Regions from separate parts of the Homo sapiens genome. Here all the other regions are linked to region 1. The links are contacts of gene promoters, found by promoter capture Hi-C in blood cells and fetal thymus (Javierre and others, 2016). All regions are on one chromosome and are shown on one strand. The core of a region is centred on a gene start or on the middle of the fragment in contact, and the rest is flanking DNA. Distances in the headings are between cores, read along the strand shown.

Region 1 (4,816 bases), core at 1,360-3,859:
ATTATTAATATACATGTTGAGTCCTAAGTAAAGACAGGAAAAATTAGGAAGGTAAATATATCCTAAGGCTCAGAAGTTTTTTGGATTGTTGCTTCTTTGGATAATTTATATTTCATTATATTATCAGAGAACTAGAGATAGAGCAGAAACTGAAGATTTTCTAGTTCAAATATCATTCTCCTAGAGACCAGTAGAGAATAGCAATAAATAGTTATTTGTAAAGATTAATTAATTCATTCTAGAGTCTTATGAAGTCTATCAGTGGTTTTGTCCCTATTTCCAGCATTTTAATGTTGATCAGAAGTGGGCTGGCTCTCTTTGCACTGCTAGGCAGAGCTACTGTTCACTGAGCAGGTGCTTTGTGCTGGCGCTGTGCTCAAGCACTTTACGTGGATTATTTAACTTAGCCACACAACAGTATCAGAACTTCTTATTTCAGATACCCCTTTTAAGCAAAAAACTTCAAACAGAGATCTTGTCTGATTTCATGGCTGCACATTTTCCAAGTAGGAAAAACACACAATTGAGGAACATGCCCAAGGCTGCTCAGCAAGCACAGGAGAGAGAGTGGGGTGGGGAGGGAGAGATCACGTGCAAGCAAGCAAGCACTGGGGCAGAACCTGTACCCTCCTGATGATTCTCAGGCCTGTCTGGGTGGCATCACTTAGCAGGCTGGCCCAGCCAAGATCACACGCACAGCAGCAGGATTTTAAATCACAGGGGATCACATGCTCTACTGACTGAAACCAACACAAAAAAAGGTCTAGGTCCATTTCATGTGAGTGAGACCCAGAGGTGCTCCTTTGCTCAGCCCTACCTGCTGGTGCAAGTGGCTGTCCCAAAGTGCAGGCCCCACCACAGCTCCACCCTGGGACACCAGATTCCCTGCCACCATAGAGGGAGTAGCAACTGAGGTAGGGCACACCTAGGTGGGGCATCCCATATAACCTTTTCTAGGTTGGCCTTGCCCAGTGTGACGTAGCCAGCCAGGTAACACCAGATCTGAAATACCCATATGTGCAGAACCCACTGAAGGGGTGGGGTGTCTAGACCTTAAGAGTGTTGGGCTTGTTGTCAGTGGAGGGGTGGAGCAGTCTTCTTGGCCCTGACCTCACCTTAATAGAGATCCTCCCATTTTGGCCTTGGAGGTTTAATATATAGTCACGGAAGTGTACTGAAATAGTCATAAGAAGGAATGTTCTCCATACAACTTTAAAGTTGTACAGTGCTTTCTGCAGTGAAATGAATTTTTTCACGGAATGGATTTTTTTAACGAGTCTTGAAATTAACATGTGAGGAGCAGCATGACACATTACCTCGTGTGTGTGTGTGTGTGTGTGTGTGTGTGTGTGTGTGTGTGTGAGTGAAGGCCATTTGTTAAATGGAACACCTAAAAATACCATTGTTTTTGTTTTTGCGGTTGTCAGGGGCCTCAATAAATGCAAGCTGGCTCAGGAGATGCTTGACCTCAGAGGTCTGGAAAGACAGATTAGAAGTCTCAGCAGAGGACCAAACCCAGACCCCACTTCTGCAGAAGTTCTGTACCCAGGTTTCCCCACTGCAGGCATAACCAGCAGCCCCTCAAAGGCCCCAGACCAGCCAACTGTCTTTAGAAATGCAGACCCAGGATCAGCTTTGCTACCAGCCATGGAATCTTGGGTCAGTGGCCCATACTCTGAGCTGTGTTTCCACAGTGCAAGGCTGGCCGGACAGTGTTTTATTTCAGAGTTCTCCTGTCTGTGGCATCTTCAGAAGTTAAAGATTTGCTTGACCACTATAAGGTGCCCTGGGAGTGTAGACCTCCCACATCCCAGCTGCCTGGCTGGCAGTGGGTGGGGAGTAAGCAGTAGAGAGAGGACAGGTGGCCCGGAATCTAACAGCTTGCCTCTGGATTCTCCCTAGTAAGCTTGGAATGATGCTGGAGCAGCTCTGGGCCGAGGGGACCAGTCTAACGCTGGACGCAAAAGACTGGGCGCCACCTAGTCTGTTCATCAGGTATTAAATGCCCTGAGTTTTCAAAGCTCTGGTGATTCAGTAGTGGACGGGTAAGGTTCCTGCCTCTCCTGGGGCTTACCGTCCAGGGGTGGGGAGGACGTCACTATATGAAATTATCTTATTTATAGCTTAATGTCATTATTTAAAAAGGGGGAGGGAATCACTTGACGGGTGGGCAAGGTGGGGACGGGGTTGGATGGAATGGTCAAAAAAGGTCTTTCAGAGTTCTTCCAATCCTGAACTAACTCACCTGCACCCTTGGCCCAATCATTTTCACTCCCGAGGGTCTGCACTCCTCGTTTCTACATTGGTTTTCTAGGAAGAAAGGGGTTGGACCCTCCCCTCTTTAAGCTGGGTGGGGTCCGAATCCCGTGCTTCTTTCACTTCCTGAGCCGGGCTGGCTGGGTGGGAACAGGCTCCTTGCCGCCTCCCCAGCGCTGGCCACTACCACACTGCCGCCCGCCTGGGCCTCCTTTCAACCTCGTGGTGGAGCCCTGCGGTTTCCCAGCGGAGCCGGGCCCGGGGCTGCTCCCTCGCGGGCGAGGCTCACCTGTCCCGGCCCGGCCCCCTCCCGCGCCCCAGGTGGTTCAGGGCAGGGAGGAGCCGCGCCCCGCCCCGCGCGGTAGCAGCCAACGCCGGCCCCAGGCGGGTGCGCTGGGAGCCTGGGCCGGGAGCCGGGTGAGGGCGCCGAGAGGCTCGGTGGGCGCGGGCGGCGAGGTGAGCTGGGCCAGCGCAGCAGGCGGGGGCGGTGGTGGGTTCGGGACGGCTCACCCCGCGCCGGAGCGAGTGCGGGGCCGCGCGACTGCGGCGGGAGATGCGCTGCGCCCCTTCTGGGCGCGCTGGGGCAGCCAGGAGCTCGCGGGGCCGCGGGGCCGCGGGGCCGCGGGGCCGCGGCGCAGTGGCGGGGTCGGGGTCTGGTCGCTGCCTCGAGGCGAGCAGCTGCCAACATCTGGACGGGACGGGAGCAGGGGGCCGGGGCAAGGCTGGAGCGGTGTGGGTCTCTAATCGTCCAGAGCCCTGCGGGGCCAGTGACTTCGGCAGAGCCGAGGGGAGAGGAGATACTGGGGGTCAAACTGCTGGAGAGAGCGCGGAGCTGGGGCTGGGGTTCAAGGCCGATCGTGGGGCCAAGAGCGAGCGTGCCAGCTCCAGTGTTTCCCCCTGCAGCGCTTCACGCGCGACCAGCTTGGGTGCCGCCGCTTCCCTTGCCCCGGCTCTTTACTTTTGTTGTTGAATAACCTACCTTACACATTGGTTAGTTACCTGGGGCTTCTCAAAAGCCGGGTCTGGAGGCTGCTCTGACTCCAGGGGGCTTGGGTTGTGAGGCTTCAGGTCTGTATGCCCTGTGGCGTTTGGGGGGAGCTGGTGGGTGGAGGGGTGCTGTCCACCTCCCAAGGCCAGGGGATCAGAGAGTGGGAAAAGTCTAGAATGCTATTTAAATTCCAGTAACTAGCTGTGTGACCTTGGGCAAGTTACTGAACTGCTCTGAGCCTCAGTTCCCTTAAAGTAAAATAGGTATTATTAATATTATAATCATTACAACAGACTTAGGTTATATGATGTTCATGGAGTACATAGCATACTGCTTGATTTTTCCCCCTTTGTGTTGATGTGGTGATGTGTGTGTTGTGGGGTGGGGGCATTCTTTCCCACCCTGACTTGTTCATGGTTAGGCTTCCTCCAGGATGCCTTACTTGCTGACAGCATCACAGAGGCCAAGATTAGGGCTGCCAGTGCACGGGCCCTGCAGATGGAGGGGGTGTTGTCAGACTGCCCTCATCATTACCCATCGTATTTGTCAGAATTGTTTTCTTTGGGTTGGGTTTTGGTCACTTGAAAATTGCCTTATACTATGTAGAAATTGATTGGGTCACATAAATGAAAAGGTCGAGGGTTTCAGTTTAAAGCTATAGCTAGTTCCAGAGGCTCATACAAGGTTCCAGGGCTAGTTCTCTCTCTTGTATATCTTAGCTGTTTTTCTCTCTGTGTTTACTGGTTCTTAGTATGGACGATAAATAGGACTTGCACCTTCAGGCTTATCTGCTCCTTCAGAGAGAGAGACAGAGACAAAGAGGGAGAGAGAGAATCCCATCTTCTCTATCCGTATAGCAGTCTCTCTCTGTCTCTCTCTCTCTCTCTCTTTTTTTTTTTTTCTTTTGAGACAGACTCTCACTCTGTCACCCAGGCTGGAGTGCAGTGGTGTGATCTCGGCTCACTGCATGCAACCTCCACCTCCCAGGTCCAAGCGATTATCCTGCCTCAGCCTCCCAAGTAGCTGGAGTTACAGGCGCCGGCCACCACGTGGGACTAATTTTTGTATTTTTAGTGGAGATGAGGTTTCACCATGTTGGCCAGGCTGGTCTCGAACTCCTAACCTCAAGTGATCTGCCCGTCTTGGCCTCCCAAAGTGCTGGGATTATAGGAGTGAGCCACTGCACCCGGCCCCTTATAGCAATCTTATTGACATACTGGACCAAAACAGAACCAAGCCATCTCAGCAGACAGGGAGAGGTTTACACAACAGGAATGGGCACATGACCGACTGTGATTGATAGACTGGCCCACCTCTGCTGCAAGGCATGTCGGTAGGGGGCGCAATTCCCAATGAGAAGTCTGACAAAACAGGACATGTTCATTTTACTATCTCTGTCTTTGCTCACCAGCGCCTAAAGGTAGTCTGCAGTAGAATGTAGACAGCCTGAGGGCCGTATTCCATCAGTCAAGTCTTCATCTAATGCATGGAGGGCATCCTGTGTGTCCATCTTTTCATTCATTGTTTTTTGTTTATTCATTCATTCGACATATAATAAATGCTCAACATATG
Region 2 (4,816 bases), core at 1,506-4,005, 240 kb after region 1:
TCAAACTGAAGGATGAAAAAAGGGACAAAGCAAGTTTAAATAAAGGAGTAAAAATAAGGCAGAAACTTATTTAAGGAATCCAGGCTAAATTATGACCTTCAAGCCTGCATAAGTAGCTCTAAACAAGAATAGCAATTAGTGAGGTAATGGCCTAATATTTAGGAAACCAATAACTTTTCTTCTGTATGTATTCTGGGGGTATACATACCAGCACAATGATATAAAATAATTAGTTGTTAAAACTGAATGAGTTTTACCTTAAAGTCAGGACAAAAATAAGCCAAACAGCTCATGCATATACGTATAGTTTGTGTCATTTAATTTGTACATGAATCCAGCTTGGAAAAAAAAAGGAGCAACACTAAATGACTACGGGAAGTCTGTAGGAAACTACAGAAGCAGAACATAATAGGAATGGTGAAGACAGTAAAGAAATTTAAGAAGGAACAATTCCTGGAAGACATTTTAAGTCTGAGATGTGATCCCTGATGTTGTATACATCAAGGGAGGAAGTCAATGTTACCCTCTGAGAAAGGCAGATGAGGGCCAAGGAATGGAAGATAATGATTTGTGAAGATTTTATGGAAAATAGTACAATTGAATGTTCTTTGAGAGCAGAGATCATCAACAGTATGTGCTTGGTGTCTCATTTGGTGTTTTTTGAATAATCCTAATTCTAGAAATTAAAACTGAAAGGAGATGGTATGGAGTAGAAAAAAAACTGTAGTTCTCTATTATTTAAATAATTTTTTTTTATGATGCCACCTACATGTTTAAACCAAGTCTTGGGAACTCAACTCTCTGATATTTCCAGATTCTTGCTTTATGCTATTGGTATGTTTCTTTTTCTACTTTTTGTCCACATGAGACTGAAAAATTGATTAAGAGAATCACTGTTTAGACAAATACTTGTGGAGTTGTTCACAAATGTGGTGCCACGCCTGTGACAAGGTTTGCTTTTAGAATTTAAGCATGCAATTAGTAAGGGAAGAATATGGAAGGTGCTGAGGAGTTAATCATAAATGGGCTTAGTGAACACCAAATGAGTGGCTCTCAATATCTGCCTTCGTCATGCCATGTGAAGGACGTTGAGCTACAGGCACTTACACCAACCTCTGGTACCTTCACTTCTCATCCCCCCACCATCTAATCTTTTAACGTTTCATGCACTGACCCACAGGCAGGGTAGGAAGTCATGGGGAGCCACAGGTAAACCCCTCCCAGGTAAGAGAAAATTGACTTTAACAATCAGAGTCAACTTCTAGCTCACAAAGTTTATGGACATTAACCTAGTTCAAGACCAAACCCTCAAAAGAGTTTAGTTGAAACCACCTCATACAACTTTTAAGAGAAGTTGGGAAGCCAGGTCTGAAGAGATTTCATGATGGATGATAAAACAGTGCCTTACACAGCCCTAAGGAAAGCAAGTGAAATATCTGACATGAGAACCATCACTGTGTGCACTTAAAAGGGAGCAATGAAAATCACCCCACAAACTCCAGGAGATGCGGTTGTGGTTTAATGGCTTGTTTATGATGTTACACGGTCAGTCACGTTGACTCTGCCCACAGTTATCGTCATTATACAGAGAAACTCAGCAAATGAATTCTTCTCAGTGGAGAAACAAACTCTTTTGCCAAATGGGGTAGTAGTTTATCTGTCATCGAGTTGCTGAAACCAATCATTATTTTTAGGACTGCTGAAATTATTTAGGAATTCCTTGTTCCTGGGTAGACAGACCTGAAACTTTCAGCTGACCTTCACCACTTCTACTATTAGGACCGTAAATCTCCCCTGAAGGCAGACAGCACTTGGGTAATTTCAGAGAGGGCAAAGGAACAGAATTATAGGTTGTCTGGGAAGGGTTGAAAGATTAGACCTCTGGAGAAAAAAATAAAATGAATCACGTTGAAGAGTAACTATTTCTTAGGGTCAAAGTTTAAATGTCTGTAATCAGTGTTTTAGTTTCACTTGCTGCTAAGATAATTAATGCTCTCAGGTCTTGGATTAATTGAAAATAAAGCATTACATTTAGAACAGATAATATTTATTTCAAAAAACAAAGAGAACACTCATTAAAAAAAAACCCTGCCTATGAGTCATTAAAAACATGAAGACACAAATGATCTAACTTTACTTTTCTGAAATGAGTAATTTTCCTTTTCTTTAATTAATTATAAAATCACACAATAGATTTCTTTAAAACAAGAATGGTAAACTAATATTAGGGTAGCTCCTCAACTTCTTTTTTTTAAATGCCTCTTTCTGCATGTAGCTTAATTTGTATTCTGTCTAAAGCTTTCATTTAAAGAGCCACAGAAGATTTTGGAAGAAATTATAGGCTTCTGATCCTACTGTCTAGGAAGGTAGTTGTAGGCCCTGTGCTTAAGGCAACTTTGAAGGAATGTATGTCATGTGTGATCTTGTGTACACATGACTTAATCAACTGAATGGTGTGTTAAAATTGCTTTTGTACTCAGCAGCAAGTATGCCAGCATTGCATGTTTAACAATTCACTTAAATATTAAATATTTCTGATTTAAAAAAAATTAACACAATGTGCAATAATTGGGGAGAAAGCATATAAAATATTTTGTTATATCAGAAATTCTTGTTATAGACAGATGTTTCTGTAGTCTGCCTACAATATGGGTATTTGAATCCTAGTTTTCTCTTTTCATCTGATTCAGTTATACTGGGAAGAAGATAGCGTGAACATTAGGGCTTGGGAATGGGAAAATTTTAAAATTCAAATCTTCCAGATATCACATCAAGAATTCTGTAAGTACTTGAAAGCAGTTTGATATTGCACATAAAAAAAGTATAAAGTGGAAATGAAGTAGAAATCCATGACAAAGGAAGACACCGGTGAATCAGAGAGAGATGCAAAAACATGATTATTTTCAGGTGCTTGCTGAGAGTCAGTTTCACTGAAGAACAGTGGGCGTCTTCGTGGCTGGCTCATCCCAATCACTTCTATTGACAAGCAGGCTCTATTGCACCTGGGAGAGGTGGCTCTATCTGTTTCTCTGATAGAGAAATAGTTCTTCAACTGGCAAGTAATTCTTTAACTTTGACTCAGTTTCCTCATTATTCAACTTCTCAGAGCAATTGCGCCTTCAAATGTCATGTGGGAAATTGCAGTGAAAATAAAATCTCTCGTTCTTACTATTGGTCTCTAAAGTGCTGTTAATCACTCCTTCTAAGCCAGGAAAGCTTAGGGAATGGTGGCCTTGATCAGAATCAAGTTAGCTGCTCCTGTAACAACGCTGGTTTTTTTTTTTTTGTTGTTGTTGTTGTTTGTTTGTTTGTTTTTGAGATGGAATCTCCTGCTATCATCCAGACAGGAATGCAGTGGCATGATCTTGGCTTACTGCAACCTCCGCCTCCCGGGTTCAAGAGATTCTCCTACCTCAGCCTCCAGAATAGCTGTGATTACAGGCACGTGCCACCACGCCTGGCTAATTTTTGATATTTTTAGTAGAGACGGGGTTTCACTATGTTGGCCAGGCTGGTCTTGAACTCCTGACCTCAGGTAATCAGCCCGCCTCGGCCTCCCAAATGTGCTGGGATTATAGGCGTGAGCCACCGCACGCAGCCCAACCTTGGGTTCTAACGAGATCTTTCAGGACCCTAAGAAGGGCCCTGACATCTAGTGTATCACCACCAAGACCAGGTAGATCAGAAGCAATTATGTGGATAAAGCTAAAACACAACCCAAAACAACAAACAAAAACAAAAACACACTACATTCCAAACAAAAAACAAAAACAAAAACCTTCATTTCTGCTAATTTTATCAGCTATCTTGAAAGAAACAATCTTTTTTCCATTATTGTTATATCACTTGGGTTCTTTGCCTTGCTTATGTTCACATTTTTCTTAAAAATGAGCTCTCTGGCATCTTAATTTTAAGGACTAGTGGCCAAAGTAGAAGTTTTGGGAGGCCCCAGAGCAGAGCTATTTCCTTGTGTGAAGACCCACCTCCGGGGAAAGACTGCCCACACAGTGACCCAAACCCAGCCATAATGAAATAGCCAGATGTCTGCAATGATCTCAGCCCATCCACAGGTTTAAATTGTTGCTTGAATGTGTTCGGGTTTGGTTGGCTGGGCTCGTCATGTGTTTCTTGTTCTACTCTAACTCTTACTTCATCTTGTTATTATAATAATCTTCCAAAGAGCATTGTACTTCCAAGAATCTAGGTTAGATCTCTGGCTCTGAGTGACTTGATCAACACGCAAGTTATGTTTGTTTGAAAATTGCAGAGTTAAGCTCTCTATGCTTGTTAGAGCTAATTGTACATGGATACTTTTTTTTTTCTTTTTTTTTGAGACAGAGTCTTGCTCTGTTGCCCAGGCTGGAGTGCAGTGGCACGATCTCGGCTCACTGCAACCTCTGCCTCCTGGGTTCAAGCTCCCACCTCAGCCTCCCGATGGCTGGGACTACAGGTGCCACACCACCGTGCCCAGCTAATTTTTGTATTTTTCAGTAGAGACAGGGTTTCACCATGTTGGCCAGACTGGTCTCGAACTCCTGACCTCAGGTGATCCGCCCACCTCGGCCTCCAAAGTGCTGGGATTACAGGCATGAGCCACTGTGCCCGGCCCATGGATACTTTTTGTGTGTGGTGCCTGAAGCCCCATGCTAGGCATGGGATGATATTTAAATCTTTTGATAGCATGATTACTGAAGATTTAAAAGTGATTAGAAAGACTGCCCATGACCATCAGTTCATCGACAACACTGAAGGAAGCTTGCTTTCTTAAAGGCATAGAACCGTGTGGCAAGAACTCGCAACTACTGATGTTTAGAGA
Region 3 (4,816 bases), core at 1,439-3,938, 220 kb after region 1:
AGCCCCTTCTCAGGAACCAAACTCCTCACTGTCAATGACCAAAGGGTTAATCCCTGGACCAGCAGAGTATTCAGATCCCTGCTTCAGGGATCCATGATGATTGGTTGGCAAACATTTTGAATGTCACCCCTGTGTTAATGGGGTTGTCACTACACCCAGCACTGAAGGATTATTCTCTAGGTTTCAGCTGTACTGATAAAAATTTTGTCATCTGGTTGGCTGGAAGAAATGAGGACAAGGATTAGATGTGGTTTGAAGGCCAGCCTTCCTGACTCTAGCTTAAATGAAAGAGAAAAATTAACTCAATGATGCAGATATTTCCCAGATGTCAGTATAACTTTGGGATTAGATTGCTATGTGTGTCTGGGGCACCCTGCCTAGTAAGTAGCTAAGGTGAAAAATAATACTTCAGTTGAGCATAGAACTTTGGCAGTGTCGTATCTGAACAACAACTTGACCCCATCTTATGTGGTGATTTGATCTCTTTAAAAGATTCAAGCTATTGATCAAAACTCTTAAACAGAAATTTGCTCAACAGAGTTCCAAATCTGGGATAAGCATACATTAAGAGTTGGATCACAGGTTGTCGGTATGCCTTGAAAACCCCATACCAAATTCAGATATGGCTTAGTGTGTGGGGGGTGTGGGGCGGGGGGTGAGGGGGTGCTTGGCCACCAGTTACCTTTTCCCTCTGCTGCTAGCTGTGTATTATGAGTAAAAACTTACAGTTATTAGTATTTCAGTAGACTCAAACCCCAGCACTTTCATATAGTCACAACTCCCTAGTACTAGGATGTTTGGGATCTTAAATTTACACTCTCAGTTTTTTATTTATGTATTTTTTTCCCAGAAGTTATCACTTTTTTTACTTGATGCCCCAAATTTACTTTAAGAGTTTAATTGCTAGTTTTGCTAAGATATTTTATCCTTTCTCTGAGAAGCACCTGGGTTATTTATTTCCTTACTGCTTCCTTTTTCTTCAATGAAATATTTTTTCCCTAGTCAAGTAGTTCTGTTTTCTGTCCATGCTGTGATAATGGGAGAGAAATCTTGAACTATGTTCTTTTGAACAGAAGTGACTTTCTTCTGGGATGTGAGCTACAATTGGCCTTTTCCCTGCAGCATGGGAGCACAAGCCTTAGGACAGCTTTCTCTGGGCGTTCAACATCCTTTCTGGTGAATCCTGGCAGCAGCAGCAACAGCAGTAGTTTGGGGATATTTCCCACCCACTATTGAGTGGGTTATATTAGCACCAATAAAAAGGAAATTCCAAGAGCACAGTTGGATCACATTGCACCATTTCTTTGTTATTTACTTGACGGCCTTCTCTCTTAATCCTATTGGCCAATCTTCATGAACATTTGCCCAGCCTTCCCTTAGAGAATGAGCTGTTTGAAAACTCACCTTGTTCTGTTCTTCTGGAAGGGGATTTTTGGGAAGATAAAAATGAGGGACACTAAACTACAAACTTAGCCTCTCTACAAACTGAGCCTGACACCTGCCTCATGCACTGTTCTTTCTGGCAGGAAATTGAGAAGGCTGTGGTAGCCCGAAAACGGTGAGACACTGAGAGACACTGGGAGACCTCACTGTGGAAATGCCTCTGACTGTGTTTAGCTGTGCAGGTCACAGATTAGCAGGTTGCAGTGGTTTCTAGGAGGCCTGGGCTTTCTGCAGAGGAGGCCCTGCTGAGAGAACAGCTGAAGTTTGCCCCCAAGATCAGAGAGCAAGCTTGTTTAGGTTAAGGCTTCAAAGTACCAGCTTTTATTACATTTTAATGATCAGAGTCATATTTTATTCATAGGGCTCAAGCTGAGCACCCCGGAGTTAGTAAAGCACAAGGTTTCTATTTCATACTCAGGCCAGTCTACGAAAAAGTTTGAAATAGAAGGAAGCTTGGGGATTTGGCCTCATTATTTAAAAATGAACATAAAGGATTTGCTGAACACTGACAATAAAATATCCAGGATAACAGACTTATTATGTAGCTTTCCATGGTTTATGTTGAAGACGTAAATAAGTCACATCTTGTTTGCTAGAGAACTAACCTTTCATTAACTTGTATTTCCACACCTTCACAATACACCTCTAGCAGAAATGCAACTCTTGCTGGAATTCCTCTCCAAGTATGAAAATTTGAGAACATTCTCTGTGTTTTACTTTTGCTTTCTGAAAAAAAAAAAGAAAAGTAAAAAAGAGAAGCATTGGATTGTGCTCCATTTTTACACATAATATGGAGAAGATTGAGTGAGGTTCTAATACATTTTGTAGGAGAGAATGAAGAAGAATTTAATTTCCTTTTTACCCTGCTGCTAGATGCGAGTAATGATACAGGGTGATTAACTTTTATGTTGCTGGAGCATTTTCACATGAAAGTCATTTTCAAAGAAACAGCAAGTAAGCCTGGTAATTGAGAGAGAGTTTAAAGCACTTTCAAAGTGACCTCTGTGTTTTGGGGGATATTAGGATGACACCAATGGTGGGTGAGACTCAGAGGTATAATTGAAATCAGTTGTGAAAGATTTATCTGTAAATCCACCTTCAACCCTCTGACCAAAAGATAAAGCCCTAATTGTGGCCAATGTTGACTTTTCTCTTTTTCACTTTTTGCAGCTGTATTTGGAGATAAAAGGACACTTCTAGAAGAAACTTCGGGTTAATCATGATAACAGTTGTTCAACATCAATTCAGCATCGTCAGTTTTCCATGATCTGCCTTAATTCAGGGTCATATTCCTGCATATTTGGCAGATTCCCTACAATTATGGAATGAATATATAAATGAGTAAAGAGAAGGGAACATGAGCAAAATACTTCCTAATAGCAGATAATCCAAAAGCCATTTTTCTTGGACGTTGCAAAACATTATACGGCTTTCTTTTTTCTGGTGTAGATTTACTTCCTTAATTACATTTTGTTTGGGTTAATACTAAAGTTCATGTTTTTATTTTTGCACTTTCACACTAATTTTGTGAATTTACAAATGTACAGGGTGCTGAATAGCAAGAAAACATCAAGAGTAGACTAAAAATGTCCCAGTAATAATTCTTAAGGGGGTAATCCAGTTAATTTTTCTAAATGACAACAATATGTTATTTATGTATTTTACCATCCCTGGTCCCCCTAAAAATTGGGACTTCAACAGTAAGAGCTATTTCATATGCATATTATCAATATTTTGCCTGAAAAAAAGGTACATTTAATGTACATGTTTTTAAACTGTTTTTTGTAGATTTCTTGAGTCTTGAAACACTGTAGTTTTGGAGATTCATCTGTTTAGATGACAATAGGTCCCACTCTTAAGTTTCAGGTTTCTTAAAAAGTATTTTTTATGGGTACATAGTAGGTATATATATATTTTGGGAGTAGGTAGATATTTTGATACAGGCATACGATGTGTAATAATCACATCAGGGTAAATGAGGTATTCATCACACAAGCATTCATCATTTCTTTGTGTTATGGACATTCCAGCTGAATTTCAAGCTTCAGTTTTCTTATTTGTGAAATGGAAATACTAAGGAGGTTGTTGCGAGGATTAAAGGAGGTAATCTACACAAGATATTTAGACAGTTGTGGCCTCACTATAAATGGTCAACACTATTGGGTATTTTTCATTATTACTATTGCTATGTGCTCTGCATTGTAAATTAGCATCAACTTCTGCTTTCTTATAAAACTGTTAGTGGCTGGGATATCTTCATCAATGCTAAGCACACAGGCTAATGGTTCACAAACATTTCACCACTAAAGAGCTCTCCATATCTCATAACACAATAAATGAACTCTTTTTATTAATTTTGAAACATTAATCAAAGATGTTTAACTGCTAATTGGAGCTTCTGACTGATGTGACATAGTCAGTGTTACAACAGATTGATATAATTCCTGCTATTTGGCAAACTAATACATACTTTCTTTTAGGCTTTAAACACTTCAACTTATAGATCAAAGACCTAATTATTACATGCTGTAGATACAACCATATTTAAAGACCCTGATTTTTCTGTTCTTTTGCATTTCTCTAGGGCGTAACATTGGACTGAAAAGGGTATATAGCAATAAATAGTTCAACAACTTTAACAGATGGGGACACTGAGGCCCAAAATGGTCATGTGGTTAGAGGCAGAGTCGAGACTAGGATAAGATCTCCTGATCCCAGGTACTACACTTTTCCCAAGATGCCACATAAATCTCCACATAAAGGCAACCTAAATCATCCTGTGATATCTTAGCATGTTTTTTATTCAGAAGGTAGAGAATTAAGGTTCTTTGCCCGTAACAAGGATAATAGCCAATAGTTGAGTAGTTCCTATGTTATCAGTTAATACGCTAAGTGCTTTATAAACATGATCTCATTAAATGTTCATAGGAAATTTAGAAGGTAGTTAATAATAGTATCCCTATATTACAGTTAAGGTAAGGCTCAGGGAGAATAGGAGCTCAGATTGCAAATTGGGAGCCTGGATTCAAAATGAGGTAGCCATGACTCTAGAATAGTGTAGGCCCTGCTGTTTGACCACTCCACTGAACTGCCTCCACATCCTTATCTGTGCAGCAACGACATGGAAGACAATGTTTGGTGTCTATAGCTGTTTGTCTTAGTGAGTTTGGGCTGCTATAACAAATTATCATAGACTGGGTGACTTAAACTGCAGATATTTATTTCTCATCATTCTGGAGGCTGGGAGTCTGAAACCAGGGCGCCAGCATGGCCAGGTTCTGGTGAGGGCTTGCTTTTTGGATTGCAAATCGCCATCTTCTTGTGTCCTTACAGAGTGGAAAGAAGACCAGAGAGATCTCTGGCATCCCTTTTA

Evidence for each region. The method cuts DNA at HindIII sites, captures the fragments that hold promoters and counts their contacts. A CHiCAGO score of 5 or more calls a contact.
Region 2: a fragment that was not itself captured here is called in contact with the fragment with the promoter of LYPD6B in region 1 in 1 of 17 cell types (M0 macrophages); the score reaches 5.2 in M0 macrophages.
Region 3: a fragment that was not itself captured here is called in contact with the fragment with the promoter of LYPD6B in region 1 in 1 of 17 cell types (M1 macrophages); the score reaches 5.1 in M1 macrophages.

What each region holds. Positions count from the first base shown.
Region 1 is chr2:149,036,090-149,040,905 of GRCh38, forward strand. It overlaps LYPD6B (LY6/PLAUR domain containing 6B), which reads left to right and starts at 2,610. Exons shown (of 7, transcript NM_177964.5): 1 at 2,610-2,712. RefSeq lists enhancers at 1,680-1,739, 2,953-3,002, 3,043-3,102 and silencers at 2,363-2,702, 2,713-2,872. The HindIII fragment of the contact is 3,848 bases long and covers 1,905-4,816 here.
Region 2 is chr2:149,276,689-149,281,504 of GRCh38, forward strand. No RefSeq gene overlaps it. Among named protein-coding and RNA genes, the nearest start is that of MIR9899, 51 kb to the right of the region's middle. The HindIII fragment of the contact is 918 bases long and covers 2,297-3,214 here.
Region 3 is chr2:149,260,228-149,265,043 of GRCh38, forward strand. No RefSeq gene overlaps it. Among named protein-coding and RNA genes, the nearest start is that of MIR9899, 68 kb to the right of the region's middle. The HindIII fragment of the contact is 1,590 bases long and covers 1,894-3,483 here.